5 separate regions of the Homo sapiens genome follow, and regions 2, 3, 4 and 5 are each linked to region 1. The links are contacts of gene promoters, found by promoter capture Hi-C in blood cells and fetal thymus (Javierre and others, 2016). All regions are on one chromosome and are shown on one strand. Each heading gives the region's core, a stretch centred on a gene start or on the middle of the fragment in contact. The rest is flanking DNA. Distances are from core to core; before and after follow the strand shown. Region 1 holds the start of ELL2 (elongation factor for RNA polymerase II 2). Region 2 overlaps LOC101929710 (a long non-coding RNA gene). Region 3 overlaps LOC101929710 (a long non-coding RNA gene). Region 4 overlaps LOC101929710 (a long non-coding RNA gene). Region 5 overlaps RHOBTB3 (Rho related BTB domain containing 3).

Region 1 (5,490 bases), core at 2,006-4,505:
CCCTCTTTCACTCATTTGGATATCCAGTGGTCCCTGAAGGCATCTGAATTGGTGACCTCTGTACCAAAGATGTGAGAAACAGTCATTAAATATGCAGCAACCTGGAATGAGGGGTGGCCCAGCATTTGAATGCCAGAGAAGGCCTTGATAGTCACATATCCTTTGCCAGCACTGTATACTAGACATGAGAGATGGAGCAGGCCCTGCATCAAATTCCTTTTAGCCTTTTTCCTGCACTGAACTGTCTTATATGACAGATTTCTTCTCAGTTATTAAATCTAATCCATAGCTACTCAGTGTATATAAGGACTGGAAGGACATTTAAAGAGCTGATTCCGACCCTGCCTCTCCTGGTTATGTTAGGCAGGTTGCTTTTAAATAAATGGGGGTCTCAGTTCCTCCTTCATAAAACTAATGTGTCCACCTGGAATCATCATGAAGATCATTTTTAGTTGGGCTGTCTCCATCTATACCACCTCCAACTTATCTAGAATCTACTCAACCCTCAAGAGCTGTTCAAGTTCTATCACCTCCATTAAACCTCTTCAGACTTCTCCTTTCTTTGAATTTTTGAGCTTATCACCAACACCGTCCAAATTAGCATTTACTAATTTTCTAATTGCTTTGCTTTGACTATACTGGTTCACTTGCCACACTGAAACAGAAAATTCCTCTAGAGACTTTACAGTTTAATTTTTAAATCCTCTACCGCATGTTATACTTAACTGGTATTCAATGATTATTTAATTATTTAAACCAGATAAAGATACAGAAAATATGTATAAAATGGCAACCTTCCCAAAAAGCACCTTTCATCAGCCTCCTCAAAATAAATTATCCTAACCAGCATCATAACTTGACCATCTGATTCAGGCAGGCGTAATGTGTACTATGCCTGTGAGACATCAATGAAAAGACACTGCTAGATTACCATATTACTTTGTACTTGATCATTTCCTCCTTCCACAGTTGAAAAGCTCAAAAGGGGAAAAATACAAACAACCATTAACTCACTACAATAATATATTAATCCGTGAAAGATTTGTTACCCACTAAAATAGGGCATGAGAAAAATTTTCCTATTATAATTTTTAAAAAAAGTCAATTACTAGTAAGAAGCTACAGGTCAGATATTTGAAAACTACAACGAAAACCATCCTTACTCCTCCCCCACCCGCTTGGATGTCATCAGAAATTCTGAGTAAGAGTAGGCCAAGTTAGGATATCATGTGGGTGGGGATTTACCCACATTCACCGGAAAAGCAGTGGGATACAGGTTTTACTTGTTCCGGTCAAACCTCCCTTCCCCCTCACCTCCCAAATAATTAAGGCTTTAGCTATGTGCTCAGTCCTTTACTATCAAAAAAAAAAAAAAAAAAAGAGAGAGAGAAAAGAAAAGTTCAAGTACAGAATTATTTTTAGATTATAGTCCGCTTAGAGATGAACTATTTGAATAAGGTTTCTACTTTTGGAAAGCGGAGAAAACTAGGTAGTAAAGCCTCTATTTCCCTTCTAAGAGTAAACTTTTTAATCCAATTTGATGATTACCTTAATATCTCTACTACATGAATTTAAGATAACACTGTATCACTAAAGTAAATGAAATTAGCAAGCGTTAATCACGTCTTAACAGCTAGCCAATCTTAGTGGATTGAAATTAAGTCAATTTACAAACTGTTTTCCTGTGATGGAGTAACACTTAATACAGGTGTTTCCACTTAATCCAATTCATTCTGTAATTCACATTATACACCTACTATGTTTGAAGGTCTGAATCAAAAAGGAGTGTACCCGTACGGTGGGGAAGGCATTTATTGGGAGGGGAGGACATGGAATCATGGCCCTAATCCATTTAAAATAATGAAAAATACTGATTAAATATCTATAAACTTTCCCGGGGAATCCCAGTAGAACAGAACATGGTTTTATAAGCTGAGGGTAAAAACAAGCGTCTCAGTTTTTTTATTAAAAGAACTTTTTTAAACTGCCTTTCAACAGTTTGAAAGCTTTCAATGGTTTGTTTTATCTGGTGTTTCTGATCAACCAATTAATCCATCCTCTGACAGGAACCCATCTGTCAGTCTATCCACACACAATCTGAAAGGGACTCCAGATTAGGCTCCCTCTTTTAGCCACGCCTACACAGGAAGCATCCTGTGGATGGAATGGAAAGTATGCCAGGCCTTTGCACGCCCCTCACGCCCCCATCTCCTTCGCTTAACCTCGACAGCCTCTTACCTTTAAACCCTAGCTAGGTTTTCACACAGCCCTATCAAATAAAAAGGACAATACTCAAACTGAATTAGAGAATGAGAATTGTCGAGGTTTCTTTTAATTTAGATCAATGCCAGTTTTACTCTTCTTCTAGAGTCCTTTTTAAGGAGATATCATCCCCACCAGTTGTGATCCCAGAGAATCACAACAGGGCATGGCGTAGGAAAGACCTCGAAGCTCAATTCTCTATTATACCATGCCCACCATACGAAAGGCATTTAACCTCCCGCGTGATTTTGTCCTTAAGATGCTCCACAAGATCTAACACAACTCCTACATCTAAGAGTCGACTCACTAATTTCAAGGGTTTTTGTTTTTGTTTTTGTTTTTATAAGCTCTGCGTGTGGCACCCGATAACTTCAAGTTTAGAGTGAGCAGTTTCCTCCCAATGCCGTTTGCTCAACTACAGTACTAGGAGTTTTGAGGAGCAGCTCTCTAGCGAGTCCTCCTGCTGCGTCCTCCCCCACACGCACGCACCAAGTTCCACAGCTTCCGCAGCCGTCGGGGAACAAAGTCCTTATTTGGTCACGGCCATCCCCTTACATAGTGGAGGTGGAGATCCTCCTCTCCAAGGACCACCCGCGTAGGGCGAGATTCCCCAATTCTGACTTTTCACTACTATCCCCCACAGGGGCGGGGCTCCAACTCCAGGTAACCAGACCAGGCAACCTGGACTTCCAATTAGCAGGGGAGTCCCCAAGCCAGCCTGGCCAATCTCGGCCGGCTAGCCAAGACGACCAGACGTGACGTCAGACATGATTAAGTTGGCGCGTCACCTAGACGTCAGCCTCTTACCTCTCGGACGTCCCGTCCCAGGAGCAAAACTCTAGTGACTTTGGGCCCGCCCCCGTGAGAGTGGAGGGCGGCCGATGAGGGCGGTTCTGAAGGGAACAAGACCAATGAGACGAGCCCGGGGCGGGGCGCGGGGCCGGAGGGTGGGGCGGGTGGCGGCGGTGGCAGTCCGAGGTCTGGCTCCGCGCAGTATATGACAGTACGTCAGCAGCGGGATGGCCCTAGCAGTGGCGGCGGCTGCAGAAGCCCAAGCAGCCGCGGCCGCAGTGGAGGCTAGAGCCGGAGCGGCGGCGGCGGCGGCACCCCGGGGAGTTTAAGATGGCGGCGGGGGGGACAGGGGGCCTGCGGGAGGAGCAGCGCTATGGGCTGTCGTGCGGACGGCTGGGGCAGGACAACATCACCGTACTGCATGTGAAGCTCACCGAGACGGCGATCCGGGCGCTCGAGACTTACCAGAGCCACAAGGTGAGCGGGCCGGCCGGCAGGCTGGGCTCAGAGAGGCAGAGCGCACCCCTCACGGCCTGGCCGCGCCCGGGTGCGGGGCCGGCGGAGCCGTGGCTGGCAGCTGCTACCGTCAGCGCCCGCAGCGGCCAGGCAGGGCAGGGCCGGGCAGGGTGGCTGACGCCGCGGTCCCGGGCTAGCCTGGGCGTTGGGGAAGCGGGCAGTCGGGCGGCCCCTGGCGGCGGGGCCGAGGCAGCCGCAGCCCTGGGTCGGCTGCGCTGCCGCTGCGGGACTTTCCGACGGCCCCCGAGGATTTCCTGGCTTGTTGGGTCCCAAGGAGGGAGAGAGGCCCCGATAAGAGAAGTGAGATGACCACGCTACCCTCGGCGGGGAAGGAGGGTAGCGAGCAGCGTATGGGCAAGGAACCAGGGACGACTCGCGGGCACCAGCTGCCCGCGTTTTCCAGTTACATAGGCACGGTGGATCCTCAGAGACAGGACACAGGCGCTCCGCGTGTGGGGGTGGGACCTTGTATTCCCAGGGACTTGGGGACACAGGCGCTCCACGTATCAGGGGACACACTGTGTGCTCGAAGGGATGGGGACTCGGGCGCATGGTGAGGGGCACACGGTGTACTCATAGAGATAGGGACTTAGGCAGTCCGTGTAAGGGGGCGGCGCACACTGGAACGGCGGGGACACTGGCGCTTCGCGTACGGGGGGGGAGGGGACACACCTGCATTCCCAGGGACTCCGGGACACCGGCGCATCGCGTTACTGGAGACGCGCCGCGTCCAGGACGGACACAAACCAACACAGTGCCCTGGGGAGAGACCTGAGGACTCACGCACACTTAGCGCTCCCCGGGAGCAAGACATCGGGTTCTGGAGAGAGAGGTTCACGGACGCTCAACGTACCCGAAAAAGCTCCCGGCGTCTTGGGCTGACTCTGGGAAGTGTAAACGGGGAACGAGCCAGAGCCAGAAGGTGTGGGGAGGATACAATGCATCCCGGGCAGAGACTCGGGCCTCTCACCCCTCGTTTTCGAGAGAAGCCCATGGACACACACACACACATATACACACACACCCCTCCAGTACAGAGAGAGGCTCAGATAGGCGCACATACACTGTAATTGGACTACAAATCCAGACGCTTTCATGTTGGAAAAAAAATGGGAGAGACAGGGAAGCACCGAGAAGGGACGCGGTAACCAGGGTGCATGGGGAAACAGTTTATGGACATGCAGTACTGTGGGAGACCGGAGTGGATACATCGCGTGAGGGAGGGATATGCCATATGGGGGAACCTGTAACGTTTTACAGGAGAGGAGAGAGTCGGAAGGGAGATAGAACCCACGGGGCATCTTACAAATAGCCCGTTCGGTACTGAGGAACACACTCCAACCGGTCTCGTACAACAGACAGAGGGGCAGAAGGACACCGAGACACAGATTCACATAGTTATTCAGCTAAAAGTGGGGAAAAGAATTGACATCTGTTGAGCTCCCACTAGTGCCAGGCACTTTAAATACATAGAGCGAAGGCAGAGTCTGAGGCAGAGCGGCAGGAGAGGTGTGAACCCTGGTTTACTGGGAGTGTATTCAGAGAGCCCCCCCACCCCATAAGTGTGCACACAGAGGAAGGCATTAGTTGTGCACGCTTTGGATAGAAAATGAACTCACATGATAGGGTATTTGTAAACAGCAGTGGAGGCTCAGAGGTGAGTGTATTGTTAGGAAGGTACTCACAGAATTGGGTGGACACATGAATGTACGTGCTAGGACACTTGTGTTACTAACCAGAGAAGCATATGGTGAAAAGGACTCACAGACTTTGTGTGGTGGGGTGAGGGGGCGTCAGGGAGGAGTGCATGCACAGGGAGAAAGGTACCGTCCTACATACAGTGAAATCTCGAGAGAAAATCTCAAGAATGGCTGGGAGAGATACAAGAAATAGAAAACTGCATGTGCCAATAGCTACTCT
Region 2 (5,490 bases), core at 2,099-4,598, 210 kb before region 1:
TGGGATGGAAGATGGGGCTTCATTGAGATCAGGAACACAGAAGGAGGAGCAAGAAGTAATCAGTTGAGTTTGAACCTGTTGAATGAGGCCCGTATAAATAGGCCTGTAAAATGTCCAAGTTGAGAGATAAGTGCTCTCTCATCTATGCACCCATTACTCCATCATATTATCCCATGTACCATGCTGGGATTGTCTATCTCCACCTCTGATTTTCCCCAGGAAGGGCTCTCCAAGATAAAAACCTCCCCTTCAGATTGTCTTCAACCAGCCAGTGCTCCCCCATAACAAACAAGGCTCTCCCACTTTTCCTCTTTCTCTCAAAGGCCACCATTAGAGCAGTGCTAACTCACTGAGAAATATCCTGCAAAGACTAGAGCCCATCACCCCTTCTAGAGAAAGCAAAACATGGAACAAAGAAGGAAAGGCTTCTTTTTTTTTCTTCTATTCTATTAGCCCCCTCATTTTCAAAGGCACCATTGTTTCAGGAGAACTGAGTATTTTTTAAAATAAATAAAGAAGTGAATACAATCTTAAGATTCCAACTTATTAACAGAAAACATGTGTAGACCTAAGAATTAAAAATAAATATGTCTTTAAAGATGACCTGGAAGGCTTTTTGTCTGCCAAGAACAGAGTTAAAGACCTCAGAAGGTCTATGTTTTCCCAGAAATACTAGATTACATTGCTAATGATGGGCAAAGGCATTAAATCATGCAGATTCCCCTGCAATTTTATTACTATTTAGGTGAGTTTTATAATGTCCTGAAATAATGGAAGAAATCTTGAGACTGATCTTGGGTTGTGGTTGTGGATATTGAATCTATGGTTTCATCTTTTGGACAAATGTTTCCAGTTCCTACTTTTATGTCCAGATATGTATATTTGAGATGAGTTCTTCTCATGTTTGAATTATATTTTAGTGATCTTGGTTGTGTTGGTATACAAAATATGAATTCATTTTTAGAGCATTTTCCATCAGATATATTTTATGTCAATTGAGTATTTCTAGCGAAGAGTACAGTTCTTCCTTCAATGTTCTTATTTGTTCAAAATTACAGGAAGATTTCTGAAAGTTGTTAAGAATCAACAGGGGAATCACTAGCTGCAAAACGTCTCCAAACGGACCAGAGTGAGTTGCAGAACCAGAAGCAGCTCGGCTTGCTAAGGAGAAATTGATGTTGTCCTCAGCACTCATTGACTTGTCTGGTTTTCACATGACAAATAAACAGATGAATCAGTTCCTCCTTTTTCTAAGAGATTTTACATGCTTAAGGTCAGAAATTAACCAAAGAAAAACCGGTTTTATAAGTATGAGCTGACTAGATGCCACAGTGATTCATTTCAAAGGTGCTGGCTATTTTCAAACTGCTGAGAGACCTTGCCATTCCCTGAACTTGGGAGGCTTGTTCTAGCACATGCACATATTCAGCTTGCTATATGAGCAAAAGTGAGATCATACGGGTTGATCCTGGCAGAGTCTCTGAAAATGCAGTAATTCATGCTGTCAGTTACTATCAGCAGCAATTTGCTTCTGGATTGGTTCCTGTAAGCACTCATGTGAGCATTCTGCACAAAGGACCAGAGTACAATATTCTCTTGGATTTCAGGGACTTAGTGTGGTTTCAACATATAATCAAAAGTGCCACATAGTTCACCACCTCGCATTTTGTTTTAAAGAGACAGAGGCTTAAAACTGGATTCCTTTCTTTTTTTCCCAAAATAGGAAGTTGGTGGTAATTTGGAATGTATCTTTAGAGCAATCTGTTAGCACTTCAGCAAAATCTACTCCGTTGGTAAAGTGCAGAGTAGATTTTTTAATGAGGGATAATTTCACCATCTCTAAAATTAATAATAATAATCATAATAATAAATTTGCTCAATCACAAAACTAAACTTCTTAGATTCAACTCACATGTGTGACCAACTCTTACTTTAGGGCAAATGCATTAAGACATGAAAAGTTATTTGAATTCTTAAGTATTATAATAGCATATACTCCCAGTTTGGTACAATTTCCAAAAAGTTCTATGACAGAGAAATTTAGATGATGCAGTCCTAAGCTTAAAGGCACATTATTAAAGAATCTCTGCAAAACAATGTAATTCCATTGAGCTCCAAATTATTTAAGAAAGCAGTAGCAGCCTCACTACCAATTTACTGCTCTACTAATTTAATTAACACCATTGAGAACTCATGCGATACAGGGTTATGAAAAGGTCCTTATCAGAAGGGGCTCAGGAAGAAAGAAAAGCCAGTCCTTGTGACTGACAAACTTTTAGTTTAGTTTCACTCAGAAAAGTGAAAGTATGCCAAAATCTCAAGTGGCATTGTCAAAAATATACATATTCTTTGGTGTTAACCTGTGACTTCTCAAGTGTTACCAGTTGAAAAATTGCTTCCATATTGCATCAAACTCAAAAATCCTCAAAAACTTGGCATCTTACCTAAGAATTTCTTAGTTTGCTATCTACCTTGCCCCCTAGAATGTAGACAGAATGAAGGTGGGGACTTCTGTCTGTTCACTGATGTATTCCCAGTGCCTAAAACAGTGCATAGCACATAAGGCACTTCATAAAGTTTTGCTGAATTAATGAATAAAAGTTGTCCTTTTCCTCAGCCTAAAATCTTCAGCAAAGCTTATCTGTAATCAGCTCCTGCTCCTTTCTCTAGACTGCCTTCTCTTTTATCACTTTATCTCTTGAACTATACACTTCAGCCAAATGCAAATTATTGGCAGTTCCCCAAATGTACCACATTCTCTCTCTCTCCGAAGGCCTTTGCACATGTTCCTCTGTGTAGAAGACTTTTCTGTCTTGTCCTCCTATTCCCTGGGCCTGGGAAAATTCTCTTTGTCCTTCAGATCACAGTTTAGAAACCTCTTATTTCAGAAAGCCTTACCTAGCCTCCAAAATAGAGCTAGACGAGCCCTTAGCTCCCTGTAATTTCCGCTATGGTAGCACTTACCCACTTGGACTATTATTGCTGCAAGGAAATAACATTACTAGAGGCGGAATGATGTTTGTGAAATTATACATCAGCAGTTGCACTTCAAACAGGACCTCATAAAGGAATTAACTCTGTACTCTTAGTGCTGGAATAGGAATATTTAAGAAAAATAACCAGGATGTATTAGAAAAGCATCACAAAAGTTTGAGCAAACTAACACATATTTAAACATACTGCTCTATCTCACTGAGTGGAAGCATCACTCTAGTCTAACCACTAAAACAAAAACATGCATGGCATCCATGTGAAACACTAACACACATTGTTCCATAGATAGTTGCTTCATGTCATTCAGGTCACAGCAACAACGTCACGCTTTTAGAAAGGACATCACTGACCAACGTTGTGTAAAGTTACCCCAATTAATTTATAGCCCATTGCCCTGTTTACCATCTAAATTACATGTCTATCTCTTTGAGATGCTCTCAATCATTTATGTGTTTACTAGTTTATTTTCAATTCTCCATACTAAATAATAGTTTCTATAACAGCAGGGATCTTGTTTGTCTTATTTAGTTCTTTATACCTCCAGAGCCTAAATGAGTCCTTGGCATTCAGTAGATACTCGATAATTTTTTTTAATGCATGTGAAACAAGGAACCTCAAAATCAAAGTAATTTCCATCTTGGCCAGTAGGGTACTTTCACTGGCACTGGTTGCCCAGAACTGAAAGTCCCTTGTACTTCATGCAAAATTCACATGTACTAACCGGCCAACTGATGAGTTCTGTCCAATGACAAACTATTATAGTGTAGTACACTGACTTCATTTAATTGCATGTACTATTTTATAAGTAGCTTATATTACATTTTCTTAGTATACTATTAGAATACCAATAATAAAAATAAGAAAAATCTATGTCTTCTAAATTTAAAAACTTCAGTTGCTTTTCTTCTGGATTAGTTTAAAAAATCTGAAGTTAAATATGTTTTCATATATATTAGAAAATCTAGTAAAAAGTATTGTATACCTATTACCTTGATAAAAATTATTAATATCAGTTTGCCTAGATAAATCTGAAATGAATACAAAAAGATTGAGGAGGAAAGCTTTTGATTTCATTAAAGATTGAAAAGAAAACCTTTAAATATATTATTTGCTGAAATGTTAGAATACCACACAAATACTATTTTGGGGACCAATCACACAGAGATTGTACATGGTTAGGCCTCATTAATTCTATGGCAACACTACTATAAAAACACATTTTTACTTATTTTGATTGGTTAGAAAAGACATTAACAAGATTACAAATCATGAGCCAGAAGCTAGAAAGAGAGAGTATACAACTGTATCATTTCTAAAAATTCTTAAAACAAAGTAGAACAAAAAAACAGTGCCAATATTAAACTACTAATTCTAACCAAGGAGGGAAACCTATAAAACTAAAATTGTAATCTGTGTCTGCACATTAAACCTTTATCATCCAACTAGTGGTAGACTTGTCATACAGAGGATTCTGACTGGACTTTCCTTCCCCACATAAGCAAGAGGGCGAACTCCTCCTGTCTGCGGAGGAGTGGAAGAATGATTGCAGCGCCCAGCGCAGGACCTTGTTCACAGCTACTCAACAAATATCTGTCTAATGATTGTTTCATGGACTAATTGTGAAAATTGGAGAATATCCTTCATAGCAGTAACTTGAACTAGAAGTGTGGCCCAAGAAGAATCAGAACTGGAATTCCCTTAATGGAAATGGACCAGACAACCAGAAAGAAGGAAACTGGCAAGTTTGGGCAGCCCAAAGAGGCTCCTGGGAATCTCAACATCTCTTTGCACAGCTTCCTCCATGTTGTGCTTGATAGGAGGACCTTCCTCAGATTCTTTATCTTCATGAAATTAAAAGTGAAAACTCTGGGTTCAAGACTCATGTGTCACTTAACAAGTAGATGACTTAAAAAATAAGTTCAGGCCGGGCGCGGTGGCTCACACCTGTAATCCCAGCACTTCGGAAGTCTAAGGCGGGAGGATCACACGGTCAGGTGATCGAGACCATCCTGGCTAACACGGGAAAACCCCGTGTCTACTAAAAATACAAAAAAATTAGCCGGGCGTGGTGGCGGGCGCCACCTAGTCCCACCTAGTCGGGAGGCTGAGGCAGGAGAATGGTGTGAACCCGTGAGGCGGAGCTTGCAGTGAGCCGAGATGGCGCCACTGCATTCCAGCCTGGGCGACAGAGACTCCGTCTCACAAAAAAAAAAGAAAAAAAAAAGTTCATTTATCTGAGATTCAGATTCCTAAGCTAATATAATGATAAAAATAATACCCCAAACATCAAACAGAATGTTTTATGTTCAAAAGAGGAAGTTATAAGAAAACCTCGATATAATGTAAATTACTACCACATGTACCAAATAGTTACCAATCCTTTAGATACTGTCATAACATCTATCTGTTTATTTACATTTTTCAGAATTTCTGGTATTACTACATGAGGGTATTCCAATTGGGTTACTCTATTATGTATTTTGCTCCAAATGTTAA
Region 3 (5,490 bases), core at 1,963-4,462, 190 kb before region 1:
CTAATGGCGCAAGTTACTGCTTTGCACCAATGGGAAAAAGGAAAGCCCTAACACAGGCTCCTTCCTTCTCTATTTACATTATCTTTTAAATGAAAATAGTTGATTTTTTTACACTGTATTTGGCAGTCTCTTTGTTGAGCATGTGTTACTGGGAAAGCAAATAGATATAATGAAAAGCTAGAGATGTGGAAATCTCTGGTAGTTTAGATTGCACTGATTTTCCTAGTATTCACCAGAAGCACATTTTTCCTCTCTCTTCACCTCCTTGGGTTGGTTCTGCATATGTGATTGTGAGATGTGTCAATGATACCAGTTCAGTCTCCCAGCCGGACAGAGTTCCCTGAAAGCAGGGGCTCTCAGTCAGTCTTCCTCTCCTAGGACCCCTCACAAACTTTGGTGCATTGCCCTCTGCCCAGAGATGCTCCATTCCCTGGTAGAGACTGAAAGCCAGCCGGAAACCCAGAGAAGCCTGGGAAGGTGCCTTACTGAGGTCACTGTCTGCCCAGGATATAAGCTTTAAATGGATGTGTCCACATTCCTGCAGACACTCTCCCTGGGCCTTCACTAGGCCACCAGTTCATCTTTTTGCTCTTTTTATTTCCTGAGCAAATGTATATCAGCAAAGGTGAGTCATTTTTCCAATCAGTGTGTCAATGCAAGGGATTACACCTGCCCCTACTGATGGAGTCATTGACATCTTACCTCGATTACTTTGCATGGCATGCTTCCAACAAGTAGTCTTTTCTATCTCTTACACATAAACAGAGCCCTAGAACGAGTCAAGGGTTTTCCCTCCCTCCCTCCTTCCTCCTGAGACTGTCATGTGAGCTCTGTGTTTCTTCACCCAGAATCCCCTGCACTCCACAAAAGGGAACTAGTGTCATAGGAGAGGCTGCTGGTCATGACAATACTCATCAAAGAAGGATGTTCTCTGGGGTTACTGGGAGCTTAGAACAGAGGGCAAGAGTCTCTTTGCTCTTTATAGCCTTTAGACATTACCTTCTATCCAAGGGGTTTTTTCCAAGATTGATCAATTAAGCCTCAGTTTTCAGTGAAGGAGGCATTTATCCTGTTTATAAGACAGACTTTAACTCAGTGCCCTGCACAAAGAATGAAAATATTCTTGGTTAAAACCACTCAAATGTTTATTGGATGCTGTTCACATAAACCTTATACATACTGTTCCCACTGCCTGGACCCTAGAGGAACTCCCATCCCTAACTCTCCCCAAGAACTTAGCACAGCTGACTCCTGCTCATTCATTACATATGGTTTCTTGAGAGGTAATCCTTGCTGCCCTGTCTAAATAGGTCTCCTCCACTACCACCCTCTGCACTATCCTTTAAGAGCAGTTTTATGATTCTTTTTAATTTGCTTATTAATTTTTTAGAGATGGGGCCTCACTATGTTGCCCAGGCTGGACTTGAACTCCTGGACTCAAGTGATCCTCATGCCTCAACCTCTTGAAAAGCTAGGACTACAGGCACACACTACCTCACCTGGTGTCACGGTTTTATAATTCAACATTTTATTTATTTACTAGCATAATCAAGTTAGGATAGTAAAGAAACTGGAATCAGTATGTGCAGACAGAAAGCAATTGATCCTCTCCTTCCTCTGCCTCTTTGAATCTGCTGTCTTCATATGTTCTTTCCTGTCTCTAGATGAAAAATCTCCACCAGTCCCATAGCTATCACAGTCACTTCCAAGTCTTAAACAAATAGTCTGTTTTCTAGGGTGATTTTAATATCAGAACTCTAAACCTAAGTTAACCAATGATTCCTCCCCTCTCACAGCTCAGATCTGCTTCTGATCCAGGCAAGGAAGCTCATCAGGAAGACAGCCTTGTCAGCTTTCTCCTCACTCCACCTCCTCCCATCTTTGTAGTTGTGGATTGTGGCTCTTCAGGTTTGGGGCAGCAGATGGAGAAGAGGGGAATATAGGTCTGTCTTGTCAGATGTCACTGTAATCTGGGGTTTTTACCTCTGCATCTGGCAGATAACCAAGCTTCCCAGGCCTGCTCTTTATGGGGTTTTCAGAGGCCCTGCCCCCCACAGCTGCTTTGCCAGGCAATAGTCTTTCGGGTTGGTCCCTTAAGAATCTTCCCCACCATCCCACTCTGCCACTCCATTCTAGAGACCTGTCTCTTTCCAGAGTCACCTCACTCCGTAGTTTCTCCCTCTTAAGTTGCTGCCAAGATGACCCAGTCTGCTCCTTCCTCAGAGTCAGTTTTTACCCAGTCAACTATGGAAGGGCTGGCCATTCTCAATACAGCATCTCTTCTCTCCACTGCCCCTGCCTCTGCCTTGAGATGCCTCATATGTCAGTCCCCAAGTCCCCCAGATTCAGGAAACACAGGACAGCGTTCTCTCTGAGTGGTTCCCTGGAAGCCTCCTCCCTACTAGTTTTGAGAGTGGGGGATACACAGCTCCTCCCTGCAGTGAGGGGAACCTTACAGCACAGTGACAACTCTCCTCAAGAAATCCCCTCTACCAACACTGAAACCTCCAAGAACGCTAAGCCTTCTCCTCAACCCTGGAGCCCTGGAGGTAGATGATGGGTTCTGACTGGCAGAACCAGTACCTTTTCCACCAGTCCTGCAGAGGTAGTCTAGCACCTCAGTTTAGAAAGCCAAGGGACTTGACACCTACTGCTTTGTTCTCTGGTGCCTCAGCCAAAACTGAGACAGAGAGATCCTGTTACACTTGTTTGTGGGCAGTCTCCCCCATTAAGCTATAAACTCCAGGAGGTAGGGACCTTGGCTGTTTTATTCACCAATGTATCAGCAGAATGCCCTGCATAAACTCCCAGTGGGTATTTAACAAATATTTTTTGAGATAACAAATATACAATAGGATGAAGATGGTGATGACACAGTCACCATTTTACTAAAGAAGGAAAAAAAAAGATGAGGGAACTTTTATGTTTATCAATAAAATATCTGATCTTGAAATAAGTTACCTTGTTATTCCTTCCCCTGAAAGAAGCTCCTGAAAGACCTAAGTTTAAATCTTAGAGCTAAAGTTTTTGTTTCAAGTCCAAAAATGCCTGAGGCTCAGACAGCGAATGCTTACACAAGAATTAACAGATTGGATGCTAGCTGATGATGCTAATGTCAATTCTTTGTCTAGACATGCAATGCCAGTTCTGCTGACACATTCTCTTAGAGCATTTTTTTGCAGGATGTGAAACTGGCCTCTGGGTCAGTGATATTCAGAAATAAATCTGGACCTCTGCAGAGAAAACCCTTCAAAGTAACCCTAACCCCCATGATTTGCCCTTAATGAGTCTCATCAAGCTCCTTTTTCACAGGGGCAGCCTTGGAAAAATAGGGAGGCACCACTGCATTTCAATGAGGCTGATGCCATGTTCTTCTCACTTGGCAAAAGCATGGGAAGGAAGAAAGAAGCTGAAAAAGCAAATTCCCCCAGACTCATTCCATGACAAACAGACCAAGTGCATAGGGATGGTGATGGATAACAAGAGCTGCTAGAAAAATAGCCTAGCAAATATCCTCCCCATGTGAAAACTTCTTCCATCCATCAATAAGGCACTGTGGGGTAGGAGGAGGTGTTTTAGAGTTCGGCCTCCAGCCCCAGGAGGAATGGGAAGGAGTTATGGAGGGAGTCTTGCCTTACAAGTTTGTGCCTGCAGTGTACACACAGCTTCCTCACAGACAAGTCTCATTCCCCAATTCCCTTCTGTGCTCTTCAGCAGAACTGATGACAGAGAGAAGACTCCATACGCCAAGTCAAAGCCAAGGAAACTGTCTCTTGTAATAATTTCCACTTAAAAATAAATATTTAAGAGAATAGAAATTTTGATTGAATTAAGATTCACCTAAGAAGGATTCTTCCAAACACAAATATAACAGTTTCAAAATTCTGCAATAGAAATTTAGACTTTAGAAAATGTGTCTTCAGATGCCCCACACTTTACAAGTAAAGACACTAGGCTCTTAAGATGCTAAGTGACGTGACCAAGGTCACACAGCTCTTCTCACTGGAGTCTGCTTCTTCCAACTCTAGCCTCTTGCTCTTTCCACTGTTATACAGTCTTCCGTGTATAGTTAGGCATTTCTTCACCTAGCTCAGGTAGGGATCAGATAACTTGATTTAATAGTTTCCAGTTTTTATAACTACACATCATTCTATTGCTCTAGCATATATTAAACCAAAAGAGTGTCCCTGATTCCAGAAATTTAACTTCAGAGTTACACAAGATGTGTTGGCCTAAGCACATAAACTGAAGTTTTATCCTAACGCTGACTCTGACTCACCAGAACGTGTTGGGCTAGGCATGAAATTGTCTCAGTTTCTTCATCTGTTCAGTGGGGAGAGTAATGCTGATCTGTACTTATTCATTTAAAGAAACTGCCTGCCTAGAAACTACCGAATAATTGTGGTGAAAAAGCTTATGAAGATTCTAATTATAAACTAAAGCCATATAATGAAGGCATCAAAACACATAATTCAGACGCTTTCTAATAATCATGACAGACAGTATTTTAGTGTGCCGAACAGACAGGTGACTGCTACCAATCAAGCATATTTCCACAAAAAAAATCATTATCATATTGTTTCAACATATCAGAGGTGTTGATTAAGCCAACAGAATTTGAGAGACAAAATTAAAATGGAAATTTGCCTCAAACCTGCTGAGACTGGGTACATAGCATGTTCCTGAGGTTTTATCTGCCAAACAAATCTTCCCATCAGCAGAAGAAAACTAGGAACTATTTTCTCATGACCAAAGAGTCCCTGTGTGACCAATAGTCCCTCTCACAGTGTCAATTTTGTGAAGTCACCGTAAGAAAAGAATTCCAGACAAAAGATAGGCAATAGCAATAAGTCCGATGATGAAATTGAACCAAACTTCTGTTTTGTTTCTCACTGACAATATTCTGTACCACATTTTCTAATACTGAGCTAACAGTGGGATTCATGTGGATGGATGGGATAAAAATTAATTTCTTTTTTTATTTTCAAAAATGACCATAAGATGGTTTTAAAGTGCTGATAATGTCCTGTTGCTGATCTGCACAGGCTATCTAGACTACGGCAGCATAAGTAATCACTTTGACACTTACCTAAAGAATTGTGTGGTTGGCAAAATGAGAAAGAAAAAGAGGTGGTGGCTTCTTTAATCAGTCTTCAATAGAACAGCTAGAATGATGTAACAAAGCCTTACCAAATTATTTGTTCTTTTGTTTTTTTGGGGTTTTTGTTTTGTTTTGTTTTGTTTTGTTTTGTTTTTGAGACGGAGTCTCGCTCTGTCGCCCAGGCTGGAGTGCAGTGGTGCGATCTCGGCTCACTGCAAGCTCCGCCTCCCAGGTTCACGCCATTCTCCTGCCTCAGCCTCCTGAGTAGCTGGGACTACAGGCGCCCGCCACCAAGACCAGCTAATTTTTGTATTTTTAGTAGAGACGGGGTTTCACCCTGTCAGCCAGGATGGTCTGGATCTCCTGACCTCGTGATCCGCCCGCCTCGG
Region 4 (5,490 bases), core at 1,425-3,924, 170 kb before region 1:
AAATTAACATCCACTGCTCTACAGCACTTATTGACAAAAATAAGTGATTGAAGAAATACATAAATAGGGGAGAAGAGAACAAACAATCTCACTGAGAGAAGAATTACAAATAATTTACGTAGACATTGGACCCTCAAAAAGAGGTTGAGCATAACTCTCCATTCTTTAAGTGTTTGGGCTACACACAGAGTGCAGTGGTGTGATCTCGGCTCACCACAACCTCCGCCTCCCAGGTTCAAGCGATTCTCCTGCCTCAGTCTCCCGAGTAGCTGGGACTACAGGTGTGTGCCACTACGCTCAGGTAATTTTTGTATTTTTAGTAGAGATGGGGTTTCACCATGTTGGTTGGCCAGGATGGTCTCTATCTCTTGACCTCATGATCTGCCCACCTCAGCCTCCCAAAGTGCTGGGATTACAGGCATGAGCCACTATGCCTGGCCTCATATACACATTTTTAAAATAAAGAAAAAGAAAATAGGGAAAAGGCTGAGAGGGATGAATGGAGGTTGGAGGTGAGGACACAGAAGGCAGAAACACAAGACAATGGTGAGATCCTAAGCCCTTGGGAAAAAAGAGAAATCTTGGAATCTACTCTTTCCCAGGCTATAGATCTGAGATCTCAAGGTTGTCCTACCTAGATCTTAAGAGTTAGAAATCTCCAGCTAATGTTTGGTTAATATTAGTCAACATCTCATATTATTCTCCTAAGATTGTGCTAACTTCTCCCTTACCCCTTACCTAAACCACCACCATACATCCAATTACTTAAGCTAAAACCTAGGAGTCATTCTTGATTTTGCCTTTTCCATTACCTCCCATAACCAACCCATCAGCAATTCTATTTCCAAAATAAACTTTGAAACTATTTTCTTGTCTCATTCTCACTGCCACCCCTGGTCCCAGACACCATCATTTTCTTCCTGGCTGACTTTAAGATAATTCTATTTTCCCTTTACACACTCTTGCTTTGTATACTCCATCCTTTCACAGCAGAGTGATATTTTAAAGCAGTAAGTAAAATAAATTATTTGTTTAAAGTCATCCCGTGGGTTTCCATAGCTTTGAGGATTGAATGCAAACCCTTATGGTGTGGGAGGGAACCTGGCCTGTCCTGCTGTACCACCCACTCTCAATAGGCTCCCACTATGCTGCCGGCCTTCTGGTCCCTGCAAGTGCCAAGCTTTCTCCTGCCACAGGACTTGTGTTCTCGCTATTTCCTGGAAGTGTCTTTCTCCTTCTCACTCCATTTTCTCATCTTTCCTTGTCAGCTCCCATGTCCCTCCTTGTGGAGGTCTTCCCTTTATATTTTATTCAAAGTTGTCCCCACTTACCACAGGCTTTCTTTATTTCCTTCATAGCACTTGTTAAGATTTACAACTTACTTATGTGCTATTCTTCCTACTAGAGGCAGAAAACCGTGGCTCTTTCACTGCTGTATTGCCACTGCCTGGAACAATACATGGAATGTATAGTAAGCACTCCATAAATATTGACTGGGTGAGAGACTTCTTTATTTAGATGTTCTCCTGTGCCTTTAGGTACCACTGGCCTGCCACCTCTCTCTTCCTATGGCTTAGGGAAATCCACAGGGCTTGCTACCCCATATCTTGACTTTTGTGTAGCCCTTTCTTGCTTCCACACCAGACTTCCTACAAATTGACTCATGCAAACAGGCCTCAGGTGGGCTGTGGGTGGGAGCAATCCCTTGGGTCGCCCTAAAGGCCCAGGAGCAGCTGAATCCCAGTAGAGGCACAGATTGGGCTGAAGCTGAGATTCTTGATGTATTCATCATTGAAGTCTGTGCCAGTTATTCAGTAAAGCGACTTTTCACAGATGTAATATATATCTTAAAGACTTCTGAGAAAGAAAATGGAGATTGCATTGCCCTTTCTGAAATCAGTTTTAATCAAAAAGAGGTTAGAGAAACTCTATGGGGTGAAAGGCATATTCTTGTGGGTCTGCAGTTGTCACACGGTTTTGGTTTTATGTTTGTATTTTCATTTTAATAGTTCTGTAAACAAAAAATTCACATGAGCACATTTGGGGTAACCTGGAAAACTGTAACAGAGCACTGTAGCGGCCTTTTCAGTCCTTTACAGGCATTTGTGATTAATTGTTACCAACTAAAGGCCAAATGGTGTTAGTTCCCTCACTGTAGAAACGGAGGTTTTACGGTGGTTTAAACAGAGTTGTGTTCCTCAACGTTTGTTGCCAAATATGTGTGCCCACATCACTTGTTTGGGGTAAAACCTCTCACAGAACCTTGACTTTCACTGTTAATCTTAGGAGTCTGAGGGCTTCAGTAGCAGCCCACAGGGGCCTCTCCAAAAACACAGTGGGGAAGTTGAGTGAGCAGAACTTGACCTTTCGTAGCCCTTGTTCCTGTTCTCCAAACCCTGGCTTCTCGTCTTCACCAATGCAGCCCCCCTTTTCTATTTTGTACATCAGTCTTTGTGTAACCAGCCTGTTGATCAAAGTGCATTGTAAAACAAGTTTATAAACACTTGCCTAGACCATTGCAGTTCCAGGTAAGAATTTAAAATATTACAAAAATTTGTAATGAAGATTTTATTATAGCCTTATTCAGAAGGAAAATATGGGAAACTGGCTCAAACTCAGAACCATAAGCACAAGTAAATTTCCATTTAAAGCAAAATGAAACACATTTCAGTTATACCACTTAAAGTATTGGAATGGGATACTTCACCCCTCTCATGTCGTAAAGAATGTTACAGAAAACCTCAGGGTGTCACAGTGAATCAGGGGTAGAGCCAAGACTAGAACCTAAGGTTTCTCACTTTTGTTCCAGCACTCCTTCCATTATTCTGCCTTGTCCCCACATCCTTTTTCTCTCAAAATTACCTCATTGAGGGAGGCTTAACATTTCTAGGAAAACTCATGTGTGTGTGTGTTTTTTTTTTTTCTCAAAGCGTTTTGAGGGGTCTATGACCAGAACCAAAAGTGGTCTTTAAGCCAGAGTGGATACATTTGCTAATCTCTTAATGTTAACTTTTGTTTTGTCTGGTCACAGCATATTATTCTTTTCTACTTTATTCTTTTGCTTCAGCAAATGCCTTGAGTGTAAGTAAGACTTTTAAAACACTTTCTGTTTCTTCCTGACATCTTTGGAGTTAAGATGTACCCTTCATGTGACAGACTTGGTTACAAAAGAAAGCACTGTAATTTTGCCACTTCTGAGGCCTGACTCTTGCCTGTCATCTTAATATTTCTGAAGCTCTAATCTGAAATACACTGATATCCTTATCTGGCATGTGGATTCCTTTGTATCTGTTCCTTTTAGCATCTTGTCTTATATTCATATGTCTAGAGAACTTACTATAAAGTCCAGTGGATATGCTTCAAGATTGCTCATAAAACTCTCATTCTATAGGTTTACTACAGCTGGGACATATTTTCCTTCAATTTGCAAGACTGTGTTAACCAGGTTGGCTATAAATATTTATATAATTTTCCTTCTGTCTGTTCTCTCAGTCCATGAAGACTCAAGAAGGTCTGCCTTTCTATATCCATAGTCTTTCAAATTAAAGATGAGCCATTCCTTATCACACATTGTCACTCATATGTGGGAGCCAAAACAGATCTCATAGAGGTAGAGAGTAGAATTGTGGTTATTAGAGGTTGGGAAAAATGGGGGGCGAGAATGAAGAGAGGTTGTTTAGTGGGTACAAAAGTACAGTTAGATAGAAGGAATAAGCTGGAGTGTTTGATAGCACAGTAAGGTGACTATAGTTATCAGTAATTTATTGTATTTTTAAAAATACCTAGAAGAAAAGATTTGAAATATTCTCAACACAAAGAAATAAATATTTGAGGTGATAGATACCTCAATTACCCTAATTTGATCATTATGCATTGTACAAATGTATCAAAATATCACATATACCCCATAAATACATGCCATTGCTATGTATCAATAAAATTTTTTAAAAGAAAAAATGGCTATTTCCCTAGTGCAGGCTTTCAACATTATCTTTTGCAACTTTACTTTTAATTGCTTCCCTCTTTCCCTCCCTCCCTTCTGTCAAAACATACTCATTGACACTGCTTCTGTTAAACAGTGTTTGATTATAAGTATAGCCATACATTTAAGATTGGATTGAGTAGCTTCAGATACTATGTTTCCTTTGTGTGGCTGAATAAAGCTTTGACTATGTTGTGTGTAGAAGAAATTGAACAGTTTTGAAATGTTCTACTACATTTTCCATTTTCTGGCTTTTGCTTTCTAGACTTATCCAGTTGGGTTTGTGTCTTTTCAATGTACCCTGCTACTCTTGCTGATTGAACTGGTTTCAGACATGTCCCATGGCTGCCAACATCACCTGAATCGAATTTCTTGTTTTGGGTCCTCCCTGTGTATGATTTGATACTTATGTTTGTGGGACTTCATTTTATTTTCTAAAATGCTATTTTTCTGAATTATCAAAAGTTGGTGTGAACTCTTCCCAACTTCTAGGAAGTTAGCAGTCTCACCTATATGAGAGCAAATACAGACTTCCTGGGCTCATTGCTCTCATGTAGGTCGCTGATAAAAATAAATACCTTGGTGCTTTTTCTCTTAATGTAAAAAGTAGGTTACGGTGATCCCAAGGAGAATATCTTCTCATTTTACTGTGTTACAGAAATGCTGCTAGGCAGCAATCATGTAAGTCAATTGCTGCAGCTCTGCCATTTATTTTTCCTGAACATCCCACAGCTAAATGTAACATACGGCAATCATGCTTGAGGTTTTATTTTATTTTATTTTAGTATGTATGTGTGTGTGTGTGTGTGTGTGTGTATAATAACAAGATATTAAATTTACAGCTGCATTCCATTCTCCTGTGATAACTGATGTTAACAGCCAGTTGTGCAGGCTTCCAAAAATATTTAAACTTAGAGGCACATAGAAAGGGTTTTAAAAATACTATCACACTGTACATATTACTCTACAATTTTCTTTCATCACTTAAAATAACTTCATAGCATCTCTCTAGGTTAATAGACATATACTCTTTTTAGTAACTGCATGATATTTTACAGTCTATATATACCATAATTTATTTAACCATTACCCTATTGATGGCCATTAAGTTTGTTTCTATTTTTCACCACTGAAAATGTTGTTTTACAACATTACAATGTAACAATGCATATGTATTTTCATTGTGCTGCTTTTATTGCTGTAGGATAGATTGGGAAACTACAATTGCTAGATAAAGGTGTATGTATGTTTCTTATTGTGATAGATATTATTCATACTTTGTAAAAGGTCATAGCAATCACACTTCACTCAACGATGTAGGAGATTGTCCATTTTTCTGCATGCTTGTAAGCAATGGATATTTTTACTCTTTTAATTGTAGGCTAAACTGATGGTTATAAAAGAGTATCATGTTTTAATTTTTATTAGATAAGGTCAGTATCTTCTTTTGGTTTGTTGGTTAAATTTTATGGTCATTTGGATTTTCTCTCTTGTAGATATCCTGTTAA
Region 5 (5,490 bases), core at 2,243-4,742, 180 kb after region 1:
AGGATATGTGTTGACGTAAGAAAATGGGTTCAAACTGAAATAAGCAACAGAATTTTTAAAAAGGCATTAAAAAACCATAAACCAAATGCAATAGAACTTAAGAGCTACAAGAAGAACGTGGAGAAAATACCCATAAACTCACAAGAAAGTACCTGGAAACTCTCAGAAATACAACTTGTGCCTCAGATAGCCAAATATTAACATATAGATTATAAATAAGAAGATGCATTAAAATTTTTAATACAAGAATAAATACAACTTCATAGGAATCACCAAAGTTTGAACAGATAGGGTTTAAACAGGAGTAGAGATACGGAATCTCCACCTCAACTCTTGTATTTTAAGAGTCCTCCTTGATGGAAACCTGAAGGTAAATCATGGTAAAGAACTGAGAGAGGTTAGGGGAAAATGGACAGAGAAGTGAGAGAATACCCACACTGCTCATCTATCTAAGAAAGTATGAATGATGTTTCCTGACACACAGTACAAAACTGGCAGAGTGTTCAGAAATTTTGATTATTTGGAGAGCTACTGGGAGTCTAATTCTGCCAGAAGACAATTTCACTCCTAAAAGTCAGAGAAATGGCAAGGCAAAAGTTAACCAAATTCTGACCAACAGGGTGAACTGACTGGTGAAGTGAAATCTCAAACTAGGAACTTCAAAGAAAACTTGGGAAGAAAACTTCTGTTATCTGGAATTCACAATTGCCAAATTAGGAACCACCAGGAAAAGAATACAGGAAAACTGGTAAATTTAGGCTTAATCTTAGAAAATAAAAAGTCTTCAGAAACAAAATTCAAAATGAGCTTGTATCTTAGATTGTTTGAAATTCAAGGGGAAAAGATAAGGATAATCACAGAGTCAGAAACCAGAGAATCAGGGAAAACAAGTCAAGAATTTCTGACAGTGCAATCAAAAATGATTCTGATGAGGAACCAAGTGTAGGGGGGCAGTGAGGGGAGGCACCTAAAGAAATCAATGTGACCACACGGGAAGTTCTCTTATACATAAACAATTTAAGAAGATACTAAAAGATAAGGAAAAAGAAACTTGTGTCCAATTTTTTAAAAAGTATGAACAACTTGTTAGAATAGTATGAAAATGATACATCAAAAATGAACTGAGATTGTGAAACTACTAGAAAGAATTTTAAAAATTGTAAACTAAATTTAGAGGGGAGCTATTTATCATGAGATGAATGTAAACGTTTTACAAAAAGAGATCAGTGTTACTCAATTTTTTTTTTTTTTTGAGACGGAGTCTCACTCTGTCACCCAGGCTGGAGTGCAGTGGCACGATCTCGGCTCACTGCAAGCTCCGCCTCCAGGGTTCACGCCATTCTCCTGCCTCAGCCTCCCAAGTAGCTGGGACTACAGGCACCCGCCACTATACCCAGCTAATTTTTTTTTGTATTTTTAGTAGAGACTGGGCTTCACTGTGTTAGCCAGGATGGTCTCGATCTCCTGACCTCGTGATCCGCCAGCCTCGGCCTCCCAAAGTGCTGGGATTCCAGGCGTAAGCCACCACGCCTGGCCCTACTCAATTTTTAAATTTGTTTTTAGCCCTAATTAAATACATGTGATCGTAAGACTTGATTATGAGAGAAATGAAGTCCAAAATAGTTAAGGAGATAGTAGGAGAAGACCTAGATGCTTCAAATAAATTCCCTTCTATAAACAGAAGTGTTGATGAATGAATTCGTTTCAGCTTGGAGGCAAGCATTCAGCTGTCACAGATCTGGAATTTGCCCCATCATGTGGCTCCATTTTAGCAATGTGGATGGAGATAAAAGTTGTCATGCTTTTGTAACCCTGGACGTCAAAGTTGATAGGTATAGACATGTTGGATGCCAGATAATAGTTCAAGAAGTACTGACACTCTGTAGTGATTGAACAAATATATTCCTGTGAAAAAAACCTAGAGGGCTCGGCTTACCACAAGTTGAGTACACAAGAGTGTGCCATAACTACCACAAGTGCTGAAACTGTCTCGGGCAGTGGATGGAATGGCAGAATGGCCAACGGTAGGATGGCCCATCTGAATAAGCTTTCTGCTTCCAGGAATGAAAGAAAGTGGGAATAAGGATTTGGCAGGTTTTTGACTGTGAGCACATCTGGGGGTTTGGGAAGTAGATTTCAACACAGTAGTCCTAGTTTATTTACAGACCTGGCTCTGATTCATAATTTAGGGCCTCTGTAACTGCAGTTACTTAAAATTAACTTAATTATGTAACTCCCCCACCCCCGTTCTCTAAAATCAGTAATGATATAATTATTGAAAACAAAAGACTCCGAGCTTACAAGAGGCCCAGAAGAAGCATGTACACATACGGCAGTGATTGCTAATAAGGTGAGACATGAAAACAAAAGGCATTCTGCAAGGATAAATGAGGCACACCAATATCTCCTACATACAACTGAAACTTCAAAACATGTTCATTATATGGATGAAAAAATGAAGAAGTAAATTAGTTTAGCTTAACCATCGCTATCAGTATATATGGACCAATTCTGTCATTTCCCTTTTAGGAACCTGAAGATGTGATTGTTTGGGGAAATTCAACATAAATTCTATTTCCTACAATGCCTATGTGACATAGTATAGCACCACATTCAAATGACTCTACTAAGGGCCACTATTTAGTTAAAAAAATTCCGTATCTGGACATTTTGCCTCCTTATAAAAGGGACTGCACACAAACCCTAACGCTTCAAAATTATCTAGCCAGATAAACTGTTGTGAAGGCACTTTAGCCTCATTAGCCAAACTTCCAAACTAAGACTAGTATTAACGTATGTTAAAAAATGATAAATTTTAAAATAGTATAATTTGAAAAATATTTTATAAAAAACTAGGCTATCAGATACACAGAGTCAATTACCTTGGCCTTTTTAAGCAGGTCAACTATATCAAGGTTCATGGATGCCAGTTCCCTGCTTGGCATGCTCTGCAGCTGGGTAATGATGAACAGCTCACAGATGTGCTGCAGTCTGGACACTTGGTACATCTCGGCACAGATCAGGAGACACATGGCCTGGAATATGCCAGCTGATGAGAAAAGGGACATGAGAGAAAGTGGATGATGAAACCATTTCTTTAATGATCTAAACACCCCCCACCAACAAAAAACAACAATTAAAAAAACATGCTGACCGTAGCATCCACCATAGAATAGAATGGTTAGGAAAAGCCTCGAGGGAGTCAGCATTCTGCACTTTTATTCCATTTTATCTTTTTTTTCTTTCCTTTCTTCTTCTTCTTTTTTTTTTTTTTTTTTTTTTTTGTAGAGACAGGTCTCACTATGTTGCCCAGGCTGGTCTTGAACTCCTGAGCTCAAATGATCCTCCTACTTTGGCCTCCCAAAGTGCTGGGATAACAGATGTGAGCCATCACACCCGGCCTATTATTCCATTTTAAAAAGAAGGGCCGGCGCAGTGGCTCACACCTGTAATCCCAGCACTTGGGGAGGCCGAGGTGGGCGGATCACGAGGTCAAGAAATCAAGTCCATCCTGGCGGACATGGTGAAACCTCATCTCTACTAAAAATAAAAAAAAATTAGCCAGGTGTGGTGGCGGGCGCCTGTAGTCCCAGCTACTGGGGAGGCTGAGGCAGGAAAATCACTAAAACCTGGGAGGCGAAGGTTGCAGTGAGCGGAGATCATGCCACTGCACTGCAGCCTGGGCAATAGAGCAATACTCCATCTCAAAAAAATAAAAATAAAAATAAAATAAAATAAAAATAAATAAATAAAATAAAAAAGTAAAAATAAAAAGAATCCAAGCCTTCATACTCAGAAGTGAATCTATTTTTTTTTAATTCTTCAGAAAAGGTGATTCTATAATTGCCCTTAAAAATTAATTCCAGGACTATCTGGTAAATCTTTCCGTTAGCTAAACTAGATCCTTGCCATTTTTTTTTCTTGACATTAGTCTTCAGGTTGGTTGGTTGGTTTGTTGTTTTGTTTTTATTATGATAAAATAAACATAACATGAAATTTACCATTTTAACCTTTTTTTTTTTTTTTTTTTTTTTTTGAGATGGAGTCTCACTCTGTCGTCCAGGCTGGAATGCAGTGGTGCGATCTTGGCTCACTGCAAGCTCCTCCTCCTGGGTTCACGCCATTCTCCTGCCTCAGCCTCCTGAGGAGCTGGGAGCACAGGCGCCCACCACCACGCCCGGCTAATTTTTTTTGTATTTTTTGTAAAGACGGGGTTTCACCGTGTTAGCCAGGATGGTCTCGATCTCCTGACCTTGTGATCCACCTGCCTCGGCCTTCCAAAGTGCTGGGATTACAGGCATGAGCCGCCACATCCGGCCCATTTTAACCACTTTTAAGTATATGATTCATTGGCATGAAGTACATTCACACTGCTGTGCAGTCATCACCACCACCATCTCCAGAACATGTTTCTTCTTCCCAAACTGAAACTCTGTACCCAATAAACACTAACTCCCTGTTTCCCCCTTTCCCCAGCCCCTGGCAACCACCCAATTTGGCTGGGGGTTTTTTCAATACTTCCCTAGAAATCTGGTTTTTCATGTAATTCTCGTTCTTATCCCTCCTTACATTCTTACATTCTTTTGTAGCTATGGAACCAAGAACACTGTGTATGGTGAATATTTAACATAATAACATTACCTGTCTTCTGTGATCTTCCCAATGCACAGATTCCAGTATCTGGCTTAACTTTTTGATTATTCATTTTGACTCATTTTTCCCTAACACACTTTTGCCAATTTTTAAAAATCCTATCATTATTACTGCTTTCCTCTGTAATATTTTCTAATTAGCAAGGTAAAACTTAATATTAGCAGCTTCAATTACTTGAGTGAGAGGATGACTGAAAATCAAATTTTCCTATTACTCCAAATCTGGTCAATTTGTAAATTTAATATACAGATTTGCCAACAATGAAATAATAAACAATAAGCTTTATTTCCAAAAAGAACAAATGCTTTCATTTTTATTAGGCAAAAATACTAAGTCTTTTTTTGAGACGGAGTCTCACTCGGTCACCCAAGCTTGAGTGTGGTGGCGCCATCTTGGCTCACTGCAACCTCTGCCTCACAGGTTCAAGCGATTCTCCTGCCTCTGCCTCCCGTGTAGCTGGGATTACAGGCACACGTCACCATGCCCAGCTAATTTTTGTATTTTTAGTAGAGACGGGGTTTCACCATGTTGGTCAGGCTGTTTTTGAACTGACTTCAGGTGATCTGCTCACCTCAGCCTTCCAAAGTGCTCAGATTACAGGCATGAGCTACGGCACCTGGCCGTAAGTCAGTCTTTAACACTGACAGAAACAACTGCAACTGGCTCCAAAATACTCTACAGAAAGCTGCAAGCCCAGAATTAATTTAATCAACACAAATACATTTGCTTCTTTTTGAACTTCTAAAATCTTTCACTAGAGGGCTCATGACTTGTTTAAAACTTATTTCAATACCCAGTGTAAGAAACCTTTCCATTCTAAAAATTAAAGCAGTGAAT

The links. Contacts are between HindIII fragments. The CHiCAGO score rates a contact against its expected background, and 5 or more counts as called.
Region 2: a fragment that was not itself captured here is called in contact with the fragment with the promoter of ELL2 in region 1 in 5 of 17 cell types (M1 macrophages, erythroblasts, M0 macrophages and 2 more); the score reaches 11.9 in M1 macrophages.
Region 3: a fragment that was not itself captured here is called in contact with the fragment with the promoter of ELL2 in region 1 in 3 of 17 cell types (M1 macrophages, M0 macrophages and M2 macrophages); the score reaches 10.0 in M1 macrophages.
Region 4: a fragment that was not itself captured here is called in contact with the fragment with the promoter of ELL2 in region 1 in 2 of 17 cell types (M1 macrophages and M2 macrophages); the score reaches 6.7 in M1 macrophages.
Region 5: a contact is called between a fragment that was not itself captured here and the fragment with the promoter of ELL2 in region 1, in 1 of 17 cell types (neutrophils). The highest score is 5.0, in neutrophils.

Annotation. Positions count from the first base shown.
Region 1 is chr5:95,959,616-95,965,105 of GRCh38, reverse strand. ELL2 (elongation factor for RNA polymerase II 2) reads left to right here and starts at 3,255. Exons shown (of 12, transcript NM_012081.6): 1 at 3,255-3,531. The coding sequence starts at 3,385. LOC101929710 (a long non-coding RNA gene) reads right to left here and starts at 3,105. Exons shown (of 5, transcript NR_130776.1): 1 at 3,070-3,105. It also overlaps a transcript of CAST not described here. RefSeq lists silencers at 2,699-3,166, 3,122-3,361, 3,432-3,841 and an enhancer at 2,646-3,403. The HindIII fragment of the contact is 3,633 bases long and covers 2,009-5,490 here.
Region 2 is chr5:96,173,468-96,178,957 of GRCh38, reverse strand. The region is part of intron 1 of LOC101929710 (a long non-coding RNA gene); the gene reads right to left. It also overlaps a transcript of CAST not described here. Among named protein-coding and RNA genes, the nearest start is that of MIR583, 97 kb to the right of the region's middle. The HindIII fragment of the contact is 1,419 bases long and covers 2,639-4,057 here.
Region 3 is chr5:96,147,369-96,152,858 of GRCh38, reverse strand. The region is part of intron 1 of LOC101929710 (a long non-coding RNA gene); the gene reads right to left. It also overlaps a transcript of CAST not described here. Among named protein-coding and RNA genes, the nearest start is that of MIR583, 71 kb to the right of the region's middle. The HindIII fragment of the contact is 2,406 bases long and covers 2,010-4,415 here.
Region 4 is chr5:96,130,727-96,136,216 of GRCh38, reverse strand. All of the region lies in intron 1 of LOC101929710 (a long non-coding RNA gene), which reads right to left. It also overlaps a transcript of CAST not described here. Among named protein-coding and RNA genes, the nearest start is that of MIR583, 54 kb to the right of the region's middle. The HindIII fragment of the contact is 2,983 bases long and covers 1,183-4,165 here.
Region 5 is chr5:95,781,356-95,786,845 of GRCh38, reverse strand. It overlaps RHOBTB3 (Rho related BTB domain containing 3), which reads right to left. Exons shown (of 12, transcript NM_014899.4): 10 at 2,883-3,049. Among named protein-coding and RNA genes, the nearest start is that of GLRX, 39 kb to the left of the region's middle. The HindIII fragment of the contact is 2,886 bases long and covers 2,050-4,935 here.